Linked DNA regions of Homo sapiens: all the other regions are linked to region 3. Evidence: promoter capture Hi-C in 16 types of primary human blood cells and fetal thymus (Javierre and others, 2016). All regions are on one chromosome and are shown on one strand. Each heading gives the region's core, a stretch centred on a gene start or on the middle of the fragment in contact. The rest is flanking DNA. Distances are from core to core; before and after follow the strand shown. Region 1 holds the start of GEMIN4 (gem nuclear organelle associated protein 4). Region 2 holds the start of GLOD4 (glyoxalase domain containing 4). Region 3 overlaps DOC2B (double C2 domain beta). Region 4 holds the start of TLCD3A (TLC domain containing 3A).

Region 1 (3,443 bases), core at 252-2,751, 600 kb before region 3:
CACTGTCCCCCTCGTCCTTCCAAATACCTACATACGCTCTTGTAATAGGAGAGCTGGGAACTCCACCCAAAACCATACAAAAAGTTAGTCTGTGTATTTGGACGCCTCCCCAGCACTCAGTCACCGAGTTTCTCCTTTCCAACAGCAGTCACTCTCATGCAGTTTAAGTGATTTATTGATGTCTCGGCTAAGCTTGCGACAGTTTCAGGACATTTCAGCCATCAAGGTCTAAGAAGCCCTTTCCATTCCCGAGGAGCCCTCAGCCAGCCTCCTTCTTCCTCATCTCCTCACTCTGGCCGCGTAGCCCCTCATGGCGTCCATCTTGGACGCCCCTTTGTTCGCGCTCCACGCCCCCCACTTCCTTCTTCGTCAGCTCCTCCACTTTGGCCGCGTAGCCCCTCATGGCGTCCATCTTGGACGCCCCTTTGTTCGCGCTCCACGCCCCCCACTTCCTTCTTCGTCAGCTCCTCCACTTTGGCCGCGTAGCCCCTCATGGCGTCCATCTTGGACGCCCCTTTGTTCGCGCTCCACGCCCCCCACTTCCTTCTTCGTCAGCTCCTCCACTTTGGCCGCGTAGCCCCTCATGGCGTCCATCTTGCACGCCCCTTTGTTCGCGCTCCACGCCCCCCACTTCCTTCTTCGTCAGCTCCTCCACTTTGGCCGCGTAGCCCCTCATGGCGTCCATCTTGGACGCCCCTTTTTTCGCGCTCCAAGCCTCCCACTTGGCCCTGGCTCTCACGTCTGAGGCCGGAGGGCCGGGGATGTCGCAGTCGCCCTGGGTGGCCTGTTTGTACAAGCCGTAGACCAGCAGCTTCTCCTGATCGCTCACGGGACCCTTCAGCTGCTTGAGGGCCGCGCAGCTCGAACTCCACTTGGCACATGGGGTGGTGGAGGCGGTCCCTGGTGCTAGAAGCTGGAGGTGGAGAGTTGGAGTGGCTGTTACTACTCGATCTCAGGGGGAGGAGACAGGCACGCGATGTTTGTGTTTTGTCAAGCACAGATTGCAAGCTCGGGGTCCAGCGTAAACCCCACCATGTTTGGGCTCACACGGCGCATTTTCTGGGGAGGACCAGCCGTCAAAAAGCGTCTAGGATCCGGAACGCTGCTGTCTGGAGGGGGCGGCGCGGCAGGAGCGCGTTGAGGGACTGTATGTGGCGCGAGCTGGGCGGGTGGGAGTGGAAGCCTCGCGTGGTGCGGCCGCGCTGGGTGGTGGGCGTCCCGGGGGAGGCGCTCGGTGGGGGTGAACTGTGTGCGGGGCACGCCCGGGGTTACCGGGTGAGGGTGAATGCGGGGCCGGGGAATCATGAGCCCGACCCGCTGGGACCCCGGAAGAGGGGCCGGGCAGGGGACGGTGCGGAGGGGTCTAGTGAGCGACGTCCGGGTACCTGAGGGCTGGTGGGAGGGCTCTGCCGGAAGGCGGCGCTGTGCGCTTGGCGCGCTCGTTCGTGAGGACTGCGCGTGCGCGGCGGAGGCTGTGGGCGGGGCCGGGCGGAGGTTGTGAGCAGGCCTAAGCGCGGCCGCCGTGGCTCCTGCGTCTCCCATCGTGCCGTGCGTCCCGCGCCGCGTTCGAGTTCTCGGAGGGGAGGGGGCGTTAGCCCCGCGCAGCCGCCGGCGTCGCCGCCATGGACCTAGGTGGGTGCCGCGGCTCCCCGGCCCCGGGCTGCGTCCAGCAATGCGCCACCAGAGCGGTGCTGCCCCGTCGCGTCTCCTCCTGTCGCGCACGCTCGCGCGGGCCCGGACCGAAACGTCCCCCGCGTCGGGGCGGGTCTAGGGGTCCCGGGGTGGCCTTGGCGGGGGGTGGTCCGGGTCCCGCCGCGCGTTGGGCCGCGTCTTGCCGCCTCCGGCCCCCTGCGCTTGAAAACACGGAGCAGACGTGAAGTTAGAGCCCTTGGAAGCGCCCGGGGCTCGCGCACGTGCTTTGGGAAACGGGCTCCCTCCGAGCACCCCTGGGCGCCCCGACGGCCTCATTTCCTGAACGGCAGCTGCGTTCTTGAGCAAGTGTCTTAACGCTCCAAGTGTCTTACGCTCATGACGTTTCCTCATCGACAGAGCGGGGAGAATGGAAGTGTGTCTCCCCACTGAGTTTTGGGCGACTTTGCATTGAGATCGCCGAGGTACAGTGTCCCTTGTGGGGTTGCGCGGGTCACACCCGCGGTGGGGGCGGCTGCGCTCCTGAGGTATCACTTTGTGAACCTGCGTGCGTCCGGATTCAGAATCTTACAGGCAAGGTCTGGGAGGGAGCCCATAGGAACTAGATGCTCCCTGCTAAATCTTGGCACACGCTGCTAAGACCAGGAGGCTGTTCTGGGAGAGCTGGGGGTGAGGCACCCCGAGATGTGTCAGCAGTAGTAGGCTGGGGGGAAATGGTCTGGTCCCCGCCCCCAGACAGCTTTTCAGGAGCGGAATGGCAGAGCTCTAAGGGCTTGGAGCCCCTCAGCCGTAATTGCTTCCCAGCCCCACCACATTCAGGCTGGGACACCCTCAGCAAATCGTTTCTGCGCCTCAGTGTCCTTATCTCTAGAGCAGGAATACTAGTCCTCAAAAGGTGATTGTGAATAGAAGAGATCTTACCTGTGTACCACCTAGCACAGTGTCTGGCATGGAGTAGGTGCTTAATAAACCTAAGAAGCGGGCTGTGGCAAGCACTAGTTAACCATCCATGATAGAGTACCGGAGTATTTTCCAGCTAGTAACCGCCCTGGGACTTACTACTTCAAACTGTGCGTACTTAATGCGCCTGGAAGGCAGGTGTTTAGGGCCAAACATCTGCTCAACTAAGCCAATAATGCAATAAAATTAAATTTACAGCGTCAGGAGGGACTATATTTTGGGACCCTGGGAGAGCCTCCTGAGCCAGAAAGAAGGGCGGTAACCCCCAGGGAGGTCCCCTTCGCAGCGTAACCCTCCCTGGGAGTCGGTCTCAGCCACTGTGAGATGAGATGGATTGCCTCCACAAGTGGGTTACATAGTGCTGAGCCCTTGGCCTGCTGCCGCTCCCATAAATGGTGGGAGGGGTAAGATGGTCCTTAGTCTCCTGGAGTCAGTGTTTTCTCTGCTGGTGTCTGGCCTGTGAAAATGGGGAATATGAGCTCTTGGGGGCATGACAGACTGAGGAAGGAGTAGCATCTCTCACTCCTGGGAAAGGGGAGATGACTCAGGAATGAGGAATAGGGAGCAGTGTTTGCACCCTCGTTTTAGTTTCTGGGCCAAAGGAAACATACCTGATAAAGACCTACATCCTTTGATGTTTCTGAGCTGGGGGAGGCAAAGAATAGTGACAAGATTCTGGTCTTGCCAACCATGAAAAGGTTTGGGGAAACCAACATTTACTGAGCACCTAATTAGACTCTGTAACTGGATTCTTACTGTAGCTCTATCTCATTTATCCATCATAGCGTCCCGGGGAGATGGGGTCAGGAGATAGCAGTGCCAACCCACTAGCA
Region 2 (3,199 bases), core at 475-2,974, 630 kb before region 3:
TCTGCTTCTGGAATAAGCAGTTTATTGACAGTTATCACCACATTGGCAGAGGTTTTGCAAAAATGAAGGGCTCAATCTTTCAGTAAACGCTTTCTTAATTTTTAATCTGACATAGAAAGTTGAAGAAGTAATCTAAAAAATAGAAGGTTTGAGGAATAGTGGTTCTTCCTAGAGACCATAAAGAGCCACAACACAAATGATAGTGAAAAACGGGTTTCAATTTCCATTGAAAATACTCTAAGATACACAGGTTTGAGAATTATATTTTTCTAATTGTAACATTTTGAATTTCATTTCAATGCTGCTGTCCTAAGACAAGTATGAGAAATTAATCCTAGGTCTCCACACCTTAAGATACACTGTGTAAGGCCAGGCATGGTGGCTCACGCCTGTAATCCCAGCACTTTGGGAGGCCGAGGCAGGAGGATCACCTGAGGTCACAAGTTCGACGTCAGCCTGGCCAACATGGTGAAACCCCACCTCTACTAAAAATACAAAAATCACCCGGGCATGGTGGCAGACGCCTGTAATCCCAGCTACTGCGGAGGCTGAGGCAAGAGAATCCCTTGAACCCGAGAGGCGGAGGTTGCAGTGGGCCGAGATCGCGCCATTGCACTCCAGCCTGGGTGACAGAACAAGACAAAAAAAAAAAAAGATACACTGGGTAATCACTAACCCATTATTCCTTGTGGCGTTACGAGGTCGGACCAATCCTTGATATCCTCAAATTTCACCTTAATGAGGCTGACACCTTTCAGCTTATCGACTGGCAACTCCTTTAGGTATTCTAGACGGCTAAAGAAGAACATTTTTGGCACAGCTCCAGCCTTGAGAGCGTCTGAAATGAGCCTGCGACCTTCCAGCAGGATCTTCCCTTGTTTTTCCCGAAATGGCCTGGACTTTACTATTGTCATTACACTGCTGTAGATGGAAATAAAAAAAAAAAACAGGTAACTATCAACATCCTTGTTACTGAGACACGCTTAGTTGTAACAGAAATAAAGAGCTACGGAGAGGGCCGGGCGCGGTGGCTCACGCCTGTAATCCCAGCACATTGGGAGGCCGAGGCGGGCGGATCACCTGAGGTCAGGAGTTCCAGATCAGCCTGGCTAACATGGTGAAACAAAAACAACAACAAAGAGCTAAGGAGAAACAGAAGCTAATTCCAAAGACGCTTATTCGGCCCTCTGTGCATAATACAAAAACCAGCGGGCTGTACTGGAAGAAGTCCTCCATCGGAAGGAGGTTAAGGTTCCGCTGTGCGACGGGAAGGGAAACGAGAACATTCGACAGGCTCAAGAACCACATCACCTCAGCCTCCTGTCCCCGGGATAAGCTTTATCGTAGCGAAGCCCAGACTCTTCCCAGGTGCTGGGAGCGCGGGATGCGGACTCCTCGAGCGGTTGTTTCTCTCGTTGCTCCTGGGCACTGGCCTCAGATGGTGCCTTGCGGGGCTGCTTCCCAGGAGCGCGCTTCTGTTCCACCACCTCTCCGGAAGGAAACACCACTTTCACTGGGCTCCGCCGCAGCGCCCGGACCCAGCGCCTCGCGTCAAGGTCCCAAGCCTGGACCACCTGCAGCAACGGTCGCACGACAAACCTCGCGGGTCTCACCAGCGCCGCCATGTTCCCTGAGACCCGGGCTGCGTCACGAAAGCGCGCCGTCGGCGGCTAGTGACGTCACGGCCCGTGGCGCCCTTCGTGGACTGGGCTGTACGGTGCGCGTGACGGCTGCGTGCGGCGGGAATCATGGCTGCTCGCAGAGCTCTGCACTTCGTATTCAAAGTGGGAAACCGCTTCCAGACGGCGCGTTTCTATCGGGACGTCCTGGGGATGAAGGTGCAGGCCGGGGCCGACAGGGGCTGGCGCGCGAGGCTGGAACCGGCGCCCGAGCCGGCCCTGGCGGAGGGAGGGGAAAATGGGTGTGTCGTGAACCTAAGCCGGAGGGTGTCCGACCTTAGGCCCTGCGCGGTGTTCAGCTTCAGGAGCGTGGCGAGTTGCCGTTGGGGATCATAGGCCTTGGAGAAGGGCCTAACACGATTAGTCCCCGCGGTGTGCCCACGCACGTCCTTTCATTTAAGCCACTCGTAAACGTTTATTGAGCCCCGCCCTTGTGGAGCTTACCGTCTACCGGAAAAGACGGTAAATAAAATGTTATATAATGCTTTCTAGTTAATATTTGTGTTTTCCGGTTTGGAGCCTTTGATGTAGATAAAATCAGCGTATTCAGAGTTCTGCTTCTAGCAAGGCTGGTCTGAATAGTCCGTTTCGGATACTCAGTCTCTGAATATATGCTCCAACTCTCAACCCATCTGCTTTTCAACAGCACCCAGAAGCGGTCTGTCTCGGGTCCTGAGGAGCTGTTATTTGCAGGATTCAGTTGGTTGGGGAACTGGGTTTTGGGGACCTCCTTTGATAAGCCAGGGAGGTAGGGAACACACCACTAAGGAAGACTTGAAAGGTGCAAGAGCGCGGTTTAGTGTATAGACGGTGCAATAGACGGGGATCTGAATTCGTCAGGTCATTTTTAAAATATCTGCTATTTTCAGGGTACTACGTTGAGTTTTGGCAACAAAGGTGCAAATGACCCTGATATATATCCTCCATTAGAGCTCATGGCCTGGGTTGGGGTGGGAGTTGGAACTGGATTTGTACGTAGATGATGGTAATGGAAGTCAGAATTTGATAGTGAAAAACCACCAAACTTTCGATAGCAGAAACCACAGAGCTGTCCCTTGTTAGTATTTCCTCGTCGATCAAAAGGTTGTTGCAAAGATTAAACACGTGCCGGCGCGGTGGCCCACGCCTGTAATCTCAGCACTTTGGGAGGCCAAGGCGGGTGGATCACTGGAGGTCAGGAGTTGGACACCAGCCTGGCCAACATGGTGAAACCCTGTCTCTACTAAAAATACAAAAATTAGCCGGGCATGGTGGCACACGCCTGTAATCCCAGCTACTCGGGAGGCTGAGGCAAGAGAATCGCCTGTATCTGGGAGGCGGAGGTTGCAGTGAGCCGAGATCGCACCATTGTGTTCCAGCCTGGATGACGAAAGCAAAACTCCGTCTCAAAAAAAAAAAAAAAAAAAAGATTCAACACCTTATTATATGTATAGTATTTAACATATCGGTAATAGTAGATTATATAAGTGTTAGCCACTATTATAAAAATACAAAAGAAGGAGCGGTTTTCCAACCTGGGT
Region 3 (3,257 bases), core at 285-2,784:
CTCATCCCTCAGCTTCCCAAGTAGCTGGGATTACAGGCATGCGCCACCACGCCAGGCTAATTTTTGTATTTTTAGTAGACGGGGTTTCACCATGTTGGCCAGGCTGGTCTTGAACTCCTGACCTCAAGTGATCCACCCACCCTGGCCTCCCAAAGGGCTGGGATTACAGGCGTGAGCCACTGTGCCCGGCCTATGGTGTGACATTTTTAAACCAGTTTCAATGCCCACCTGCCAGATGGACAGGAATTCCAGGGTCACCTGCTGGGTTGCCCAGAAAGCAGAGTCTTACCTGCTGTGACAGATGGTCTGGTCAACTTCCACAGGCAGGCGGGGGGCCATCTGGGCAGGGCCTGTCCACTGTACCACAAGCTCCTCCCTGCCACAGGTGGCTGCTGTGGGTGCTGCTGGACCCCTGCAGCTGGGTCCCACCTGCCAGCCGTGGGCCAGGTCACGTGGCCTTTCAAAGACAGGCCGAGCTGTGGGCCACTCCCTGTATCTGAGCCACGCCTCACCCGAGACCTCCACATCTGTTTCAGACACCCTGGGTGAGACACGACGGCTGCTGCTCGGGGCTCCTCAGGGGTCCCCGTCTCTGAAAGGCCCCTTCATGGACCAGGGGCCTCTTCCTCACTAAAGCAGAGGAAATAAGGGCACAGATTAGATGGTAAGAGGGGCACCCCTCAGCTGCATCCTAGACCTGGAAGAGAGTGTGACCTGTGCCCCAGAAGAAAGGGAGGGACGTATCTAGCGGTTGATGCTGAGGGCCAAAGCTAGATGGGTCAAGGCCTTTTGTCTGCACTATTATTTTTATTTGTTTTCTTTATTTCTTCCTTTCTTTTTTGAGACAGTGACTCACTCTGTCACCGGGCTGGAATGCAGTGATGCGATCACAGCTCACAGCAGCCTCAAACTCCTGGGCTCAAGCAGTCCTTCCCCCTCAGCCTCCTGAGTAGCTGGGACTACAGGTGTGCACCACCACGCCTGGCTAGTTGTTTTTTGTATTTTTTGTAGAGACTGGGTTTTGCCGTATTGGCCAGGCTGGTCTCAAACTGCTGGACTCAAACGATCCTCCTAGCTCGGCCTCCCAAAGTGCTGGGATTACAGGTGCAAGCCACCATGCCCAGCTAGCACCATTATTTTTATAAAGCTCATCTCTGGTGATACTTGCCCCAGTTTCCCCAGGCCGGAAGTTGACCCCAGGCCCAGCTCTTGAGGGTTTGATGGAAAACCCCAGGAGTAGCAGTGCCTGTGACAATCGCTGACATGTCGAGTTACACGTAATATCCCTGAGCTGCGCGATGGCTGCGTGTGACGCGCTCAGCAGCCTGTGCGGTCGCTCCTGTTGTTATCTCCATTTCATGCCCGTGAAAATGGCAGTAACTGGCAGCAACGTGCTGTGCCACCCTGGGCAACTCCCTTCTCTGGCTGTCTTATGTATAACCAGAAGGGGTTTCTTCTCAAAGCCACAGGCAAGCAGAAGGCACTGTGCAGAGGGCTCAGAGGTACACGGCACAGGGCGGCTCCGTGAGCCCCGGTGGCCAGGACCACTGTCCTGACAGCAAGGGAGGGAGAGACGCCACAGGGCGGGCCTCAGGGGCTTTGCAGGGTGGGCTTGTGCCAGAGTAGGGTATGCTCAGGGAGGGTGCTGAGGGATTTCCCCAGAGTGGTCAGGTGAGGAGGGAAGGGCACTTCTGGTAGAGAAAACAGCAGAACAGAGGGCAACGCTGGCGGAACTGTCCATGGCTGAAGGTGCCGAGGCTGGAGCCTGTCGTGGAAGTCTGGTGGCTGAGTGAGGGGTCACCAGATGGGCACAAGTTGTCCAGGCTGAGGGTGCAGAGATCCCAAAACAACTTTCCTTCCAGGGGCTTGTGAAGGCAGGGCACGCAGGACCCTTCTGTCCCTGCTCCTCACCCGTCACCAAACAGGCCAAGGACAGTTCACAGCAGACACAATATACCAATACCTAGAGAAATGGCCAAGGAGCATAGTAAGTAACTAAGGAAATCCGCTGTCTCCGGGTGGCGGGCTTAGGGGAATCCCCCCAAACTTTTTTAAAATCAGGTTTATTGAGGTACAGGTTGAGCGTCCCAAAGCTGTAAATCCAAAACCCCAAACATTCCAAGCACCGACATGACGCTCAAAGGGAATGCTTATTGGCGCGTTTGGGATTTCAGATTTTTGAATTTTTGAGTTAGGGATGCTGAACTGGTAAATATACTGCAAAGATTACAAAATATGAAAAAATCCAAAATTCAAAACATCTGGTCCAAGCATTTCAGATAATGGATCCTCAACCTGTATCATTCATATCCAGTGAGTTTTTCTTTTCTTTTCTTTTTTTAGAGACAGGGTTTTGCTCTGTTGTCCAGGCCAAAGTGCAGTGGCGCAATCATAGCTCATTGCAGCCTTGAACTCCTGGGCTCAAGCATCTTCCCACCTCAGCACTGTGAATAGCTGGGACTACAGGCATGCACCACCATGCCCAGCTAATTTTTAATTTTTTGGTAGAGATGGGGTCTCGCTGTATCACCCAGGCTGGGACAGTCTTGTTTCCACCACCAGAATCAACACAGAGAATATGACCCCAGAAAGTTCCCTGGCCCCAGGCAACCACTCACCTGTTTTCTGTCTCAATGGTGTTGCCGTTTCCAGACTTTCCCATGAAACAGTCAGATAGTGTGTTGCCCTGTGAGTCCGGCTTCTTTCACACGGAGGAATGCGTTTGAGATTCATCTGTCAGTTGCATGTACCAGGAGTTTGGTCCTTTTTGTTGCTAAGTGGTCTTCCATTGTGTGGGTAAACCACAAGTTTGTTGTTGATGAGTTCCCCAGTTGAAGGGCGTGTGGTTGTTTGCAATTTTTGGTGATGGTAGAAAGCTGCAATGAACAGGTTTTTGTGTGGACATATGTCTTCATTTCTCTCTCCTAATCCCAACTTTTGTCCACATGCATTTTCTAGTGCTTCTGTAATAAACCAGTATTATTTATGCCATGAAAGTCACAATTTTAAAATATGCAAAGTAAAGCAACTATGAGATATCATTTTCTGCCTCTCAAACCAGCAAGGAGTTTTTAAATGATAGCATTCAGCTTTGTCGCAGGCACTGTGTGTCAACCATGCAGCCTTTCTGGAGAGGAACTGGGCAGAATAAGCTGGACATGGGCGTGTCTTTGGGCGGTGCCTTCACTTCTAGGGATGCAGGTTAAGCTGGACATGGGCGTGTCTTTGGGCGGTGGCTTCACTTCTAGGGATGCAGG
Region 4 (3,418 bases), core at 185-2,684, 580 kb before region 3:
GATTGATCCCAGGTAAGACCGCAGGCTAGAGTGAGACGGACAGCTTGCTCAGGCCCCTCGCAGTTCAGTCTCAGCAGGTGAGAAGCAGGACTTGGCAGAGCCCACAGGAGAGCAGGGCCTGGAAAGGCCGTTCAACTTCCTGCACATCCGACTGTGGTCCTTCAACTTGGGAGAAAGTGAGTGTGATTCCAGCAAGACCGGTGGGGAAAAAAAAGGCTTGAAATAATAAAAGCACCACCATTGTCCAGGTCTAACTACTGTACAAAGTCGACTATTCTGGTCTTAATTTATGATTTGTTTCACTGGAACTGCAGATAGGTGCACATTTCCTGACCTGCCTCTGGACTGACCTCTGATAGACGTACAAGTCCGTGTTCTAAGCGCTGGGAACCTCTCAATCACCTTTAGCAAATCTGCAGGAAAAGCAAGAGCGGCGTTTGCGTGGAAGGGGGTGGTGGGTTGGTTCCTTTCCATGGAGGGGGCTCTGCTAACCACACTGGACGTCTGTTAGCCAGTGATGCTCCAGAGTGAGAACCCAGTGAAGCCAACTGCAAGAATCAAGCCACACTCCCAGTCGTAAATGCTTCCACGCTTATCTCTTCCATGAAGGACCTGGATCCCTGGCTCACACCACCTGAAATCAGACTCCGACTCTGTCGTCCTCCCTCATTTCCGTGGACTTTCTCCTAAGCTGGGGGTGCCCGAAGACTCCGGAGAGGAAGAAGGAGCCCATTGTGGTGCCAGCTTTTCCCATTAGTCAGCTTTCTGAGCGCGTGTGCTGCGAGAGCCAGAGCCTGCGAGCTACTGAAATGTGACATTTGCAACAAGGCCCCGGCCCGGGCTCTTACCTGCCGGTGATCACGTCGTCGCAGGAGCGAATGATGACGATCCCCGAGCCGGTGGCCAGCACGGCGTGCACCGAGGAAACCAGCCTAGCGCGGGCGGAGAGAACAGCGCGCGCGCTCAGTCCGGTCCGAGGACCGCAGGGAGCCCGGCCCGGCCCTTCGGCCTGACTCTCCCCAGCCGCAGGCAGATGTGGGGAGCGGGCTCCGGAGGCTCATCGGCCATTCCCGCCCGCCCCGGCCCCGCTCCCGCCAGGGGAGGACGCGGAGGGGCTTCGGAAACTCGGGCCGCCGGGACGCGGAGGGAGCAGCCCCCGGGCTTCCTGCCGCCCCCCTTTTCCGCCCTGGGCCCCGCGGCCGGGTGGGGTGCGGTGGGCAGCGCCCCGGGCCTCGGGGGGCGTCTCGGCGGCGCCGGTACCTGGTGCTGATCATCACGCAGTCGGTGCGGCTCCATCCGGGCTGGGAGCGGCGCAGCGCCCAGGTGCAGAGCGCGAAGAGCCCCGGGAAGAAGAGCGCGCCCCCGGCCAGCGTCAGCAGCATCGGGGCTGCGGGTCCGGCCGCCTCGCTGGCGCCGCGTGGCTGGGTTCGGCTCGGCGCGCCCCGGCCCGGCCGCGCGATTTCAACCCTCCGCCCCCGTCCCCGTCCCGCCTCCGCCCGGCGCTGGCCCCGATCCCGCGGCGCGGCTCTGCGCGTGACCAGGCCCGGCGGCTGCGATAGGGCGGGGCGGGGTCTCTCGCGGTCCCTGGGCCCGGAGGGTTCCCCGGCGTCCCCGGCGGGCGGGTGGGCGGGGGCGGAGGCGGGGACCGAGGCGGCGGCTGTGGCCGGGGCCGCGGCGCGCGCGCGTTCCGAGTCCGCCGCTCCCTCCCGAGCGGCCGCGGGGCCCAGGCGGAGGCGGGAAGGGCCGCGGCTCCCGGCTTCTGTTCCGTCAGCGGACGCGCCCCTCCCCGACCTGCTCTTCTCGCCGGCCCCGGGCGAAGGGGCGGGGTGGGCGCGGGGCCGAGGAAGCCAGGTAGGAACCCCCTCCGGGGTGGGGCGAGGCCCGCGGGGAAGGAAGGAGGGAGGCGGCGTGTGGCCCTGGGTTCGCGGGCCCCGTCCACCAAGCCCTGGTGCTTCTCGGTGGGAGGCCTCAGGATGTGGCCTCTCCCCGCACGGCCGAGATGCTTTTCCCGGTGCCGCCAGCGGCTGCAGCCGCTCCGGGGTGGCCCTCAGGAAGCGTGAGGTCCGGGGGCCTCCAGCAGCCCCTCTCCACCTGCACCAGGAGGCGGACTGTGGAGGCTGCAGGCTCTTACTGCCTCTCGGCTTTGGATCTATCCGGAGACACCATCCAGAGGCGTAGGGACTGTGGTGTTGTTCACAACGTGTCGTTATTTAAAAGTATCGGGGTCGGGCGCGCCTGTAACCCCAGCACTTGGGGAGGCCGAGGCGGGCAGATCACTTGACGTCAGGAGTTCGAGACCAGCCTGACCACCACGGTGAAACCCCGTCTCTACTAAAAATACAAAATTAGCCAGGTGTGGTGGTGCCTGTCTGTAGTCCCAGCTACTCTGGAGGCTGAGGCAGGAGAATCGCTTGAACCTGGGAGGCAGAGGTTGCAGTGAGCCGAGATCACGCCACTGCACTCCAGCCTGGGCCACAGAGCAGGACTCTGTCTCAAAAAACAAACAAACAAACAAACAAAAAAACAGTTATCGGGACAGGCGTCTAAACTTGAATGAATTGGAATACATTTCATTTGTGCCAAGCACCAATCACATGGATGAAGACAGGAATTTCAGTATCATTGGCTTCTGTCCTTTAGGAACTACCAGCTTTATTTTGCTTTGGTCTGTATCTTCCTCAGCTAACAAACGTAGGGGGTGGGAAATACAGTTCATTTATGTTACTACAAATGAAAGGTATGACGGGTCTCCTCAGATCACCGTCATGCAAAATGCTGACCAAAATCCCGTATGAGGACTTCGGAACAGCTGGGCTCGGCTCTCTGGGCCACGATTTGCTGGTCCGTGAAATGAGAGGGAGGCTGGATCACTAGCTCTTTAACGGTCTTCCAGCTCTAGATTCTTATGAGTCTATGACTTTTACAAAGTGGCAGATGATTTCTGTTAGGTGCCAGTTAAATTACTTTAACACGGCAGTTAGTGATGTAGGAACTGGTGTAGAGTGAGCACAGCTTTTGTTTTTTTCAATTTGGATTCATTCATGATGGAGTCTGAAGATGTTTCTCAGGTTTAAAAGATAGTTTTCCTTCAGTGGTAGTATCAGTTACTAGGCTGTGACCTTTTGGAATGAATGTAGCCTCTAACATCTTCCTATATGTGGTTAAGAAAAGGGACTTAGCCAACAGGACGGTGGCAGACAGCCTCAAGAAAAGCCTCAAACTTCGTCCACTTAGGGCAACATCTCTAACTCCCAAATTCACTGCTGACATACTCAGTGAAAGGAGAAAGCCACTTCAGGTTGGTCCCAAGATATCTGACAAATGCGACGCTCTCTTTATTTTCACATTCGCTTGTGGACAAAACCAGCTACCTGTGAACTCTCCATTCTCTCCAGGAAAACGACTCTGTGCAGTCCAC

What was found. Contacts are between HindIII fragments. The CHiCAGO score rates a contact against its expected background, and 5 or more counts as called.
Region 1: the fragment with the promoter of GEMIN4 here is called in contact with a fragment that was not itself captured in region 3 in 5 of 17 cell types (neutrophils, M0 macrophages, monocytes and 2 more); the score reaches 12.6 in neutrophils.
Region 2: the fragment with the promoter of GLOD4 here is called in contact with a fragment that was not itself captured in region 3 in 7 of 17 cell types (neutrophils, endothelial precursors, M0 macrophages and 4 more); the score reaches 12.7 in neutrophils.
Region 4: a contact is called between the fragment with the promoter of TLCD3A here and a fragment that was not itself captured in region 3, in 2 of 17 cell types (neutrophils and monocytes). The highest score is 6.9, in neutrophils.

What each region holds. Positions count from the first base shown.
Region 1 is chr17:750,322-753,764 of GRCh38, reverse strand. It overlaps GEMIN4 (gem nuclear organelle associated protein 4), which reads left to right and starts at 1,501. Exons shown (of 2, transcript NM_015721.3): 1 at 1,501-1,632. The coding sequence starts at 1,623. It also overlaps the pseudogene DBIL5P. RefSeq lists silencers at 1,122-1,381, 1,562-1,981 and an enhancer at 2,162-2,221. The HindIII fragment of the contact is 5,891 bases long and covers 195-3,443 here.
Region 2 is chr17:780,805-784,003 of GRCh38, reverse strand. GLOD4 (glyoxalase domain containing 4) reads left to right here and starts at 1,724. Exons shown (of 9, transcript NM_016080.4): 1 at 1,724-1,838. The coding sequence starts at 1,749. MRM3 (mitochondrial rRNA methyltransferase 3) reads right to left here and starts at 1,651. Exons shown (of 4, transcript NM_018146.4): 1 at 1,312-1,651; 2 at 677-921. The coding sequence starts at 1,625. RefSeq lists enhancers at 1,124-1,672, 1,344-1,693, 2,694-2,793. The HindIII fragment of the contact is 3,821 bases long and covers 1,339-3,199 here.
Region 3 is chr17:150,355-153,611 of GRCh38, reverse strand. All of the region lies in intron 6 of DOC2B (double C2 domain beta), which reads left to right. Among named protein-coding and RNA genes, the nearest start is that of SCGB1C2, 14 kb to the right of the region's middle. The HindIII fragment of the contact is 3,739 bases long and covers 1-3,257 here.
Region 4 is chr17:730,612-734,029 of GRCh38, reverse strand. It overlaps TLCD3A (TLC domain containing 3A), which reads right to left and starts at 1,434. Exons shown (of 5, transcript NM_024792.3): 1 at 1,261-1,434; 2 at 849-932. The coding sequence starts at 1,382. LOC124903893 (a long non-coding RNA gene) reads left to right here and starts at 1,650. Exons shown (of 2, transcript XR_007065572.1): 1 at 1,650-1,851. RefSeq lists silencers at 1,018-1,117, 1,188-1,457, 1,478-1,957. The HindIII fragment of the contact is 13,049 bases long and covers 1-3,418 here.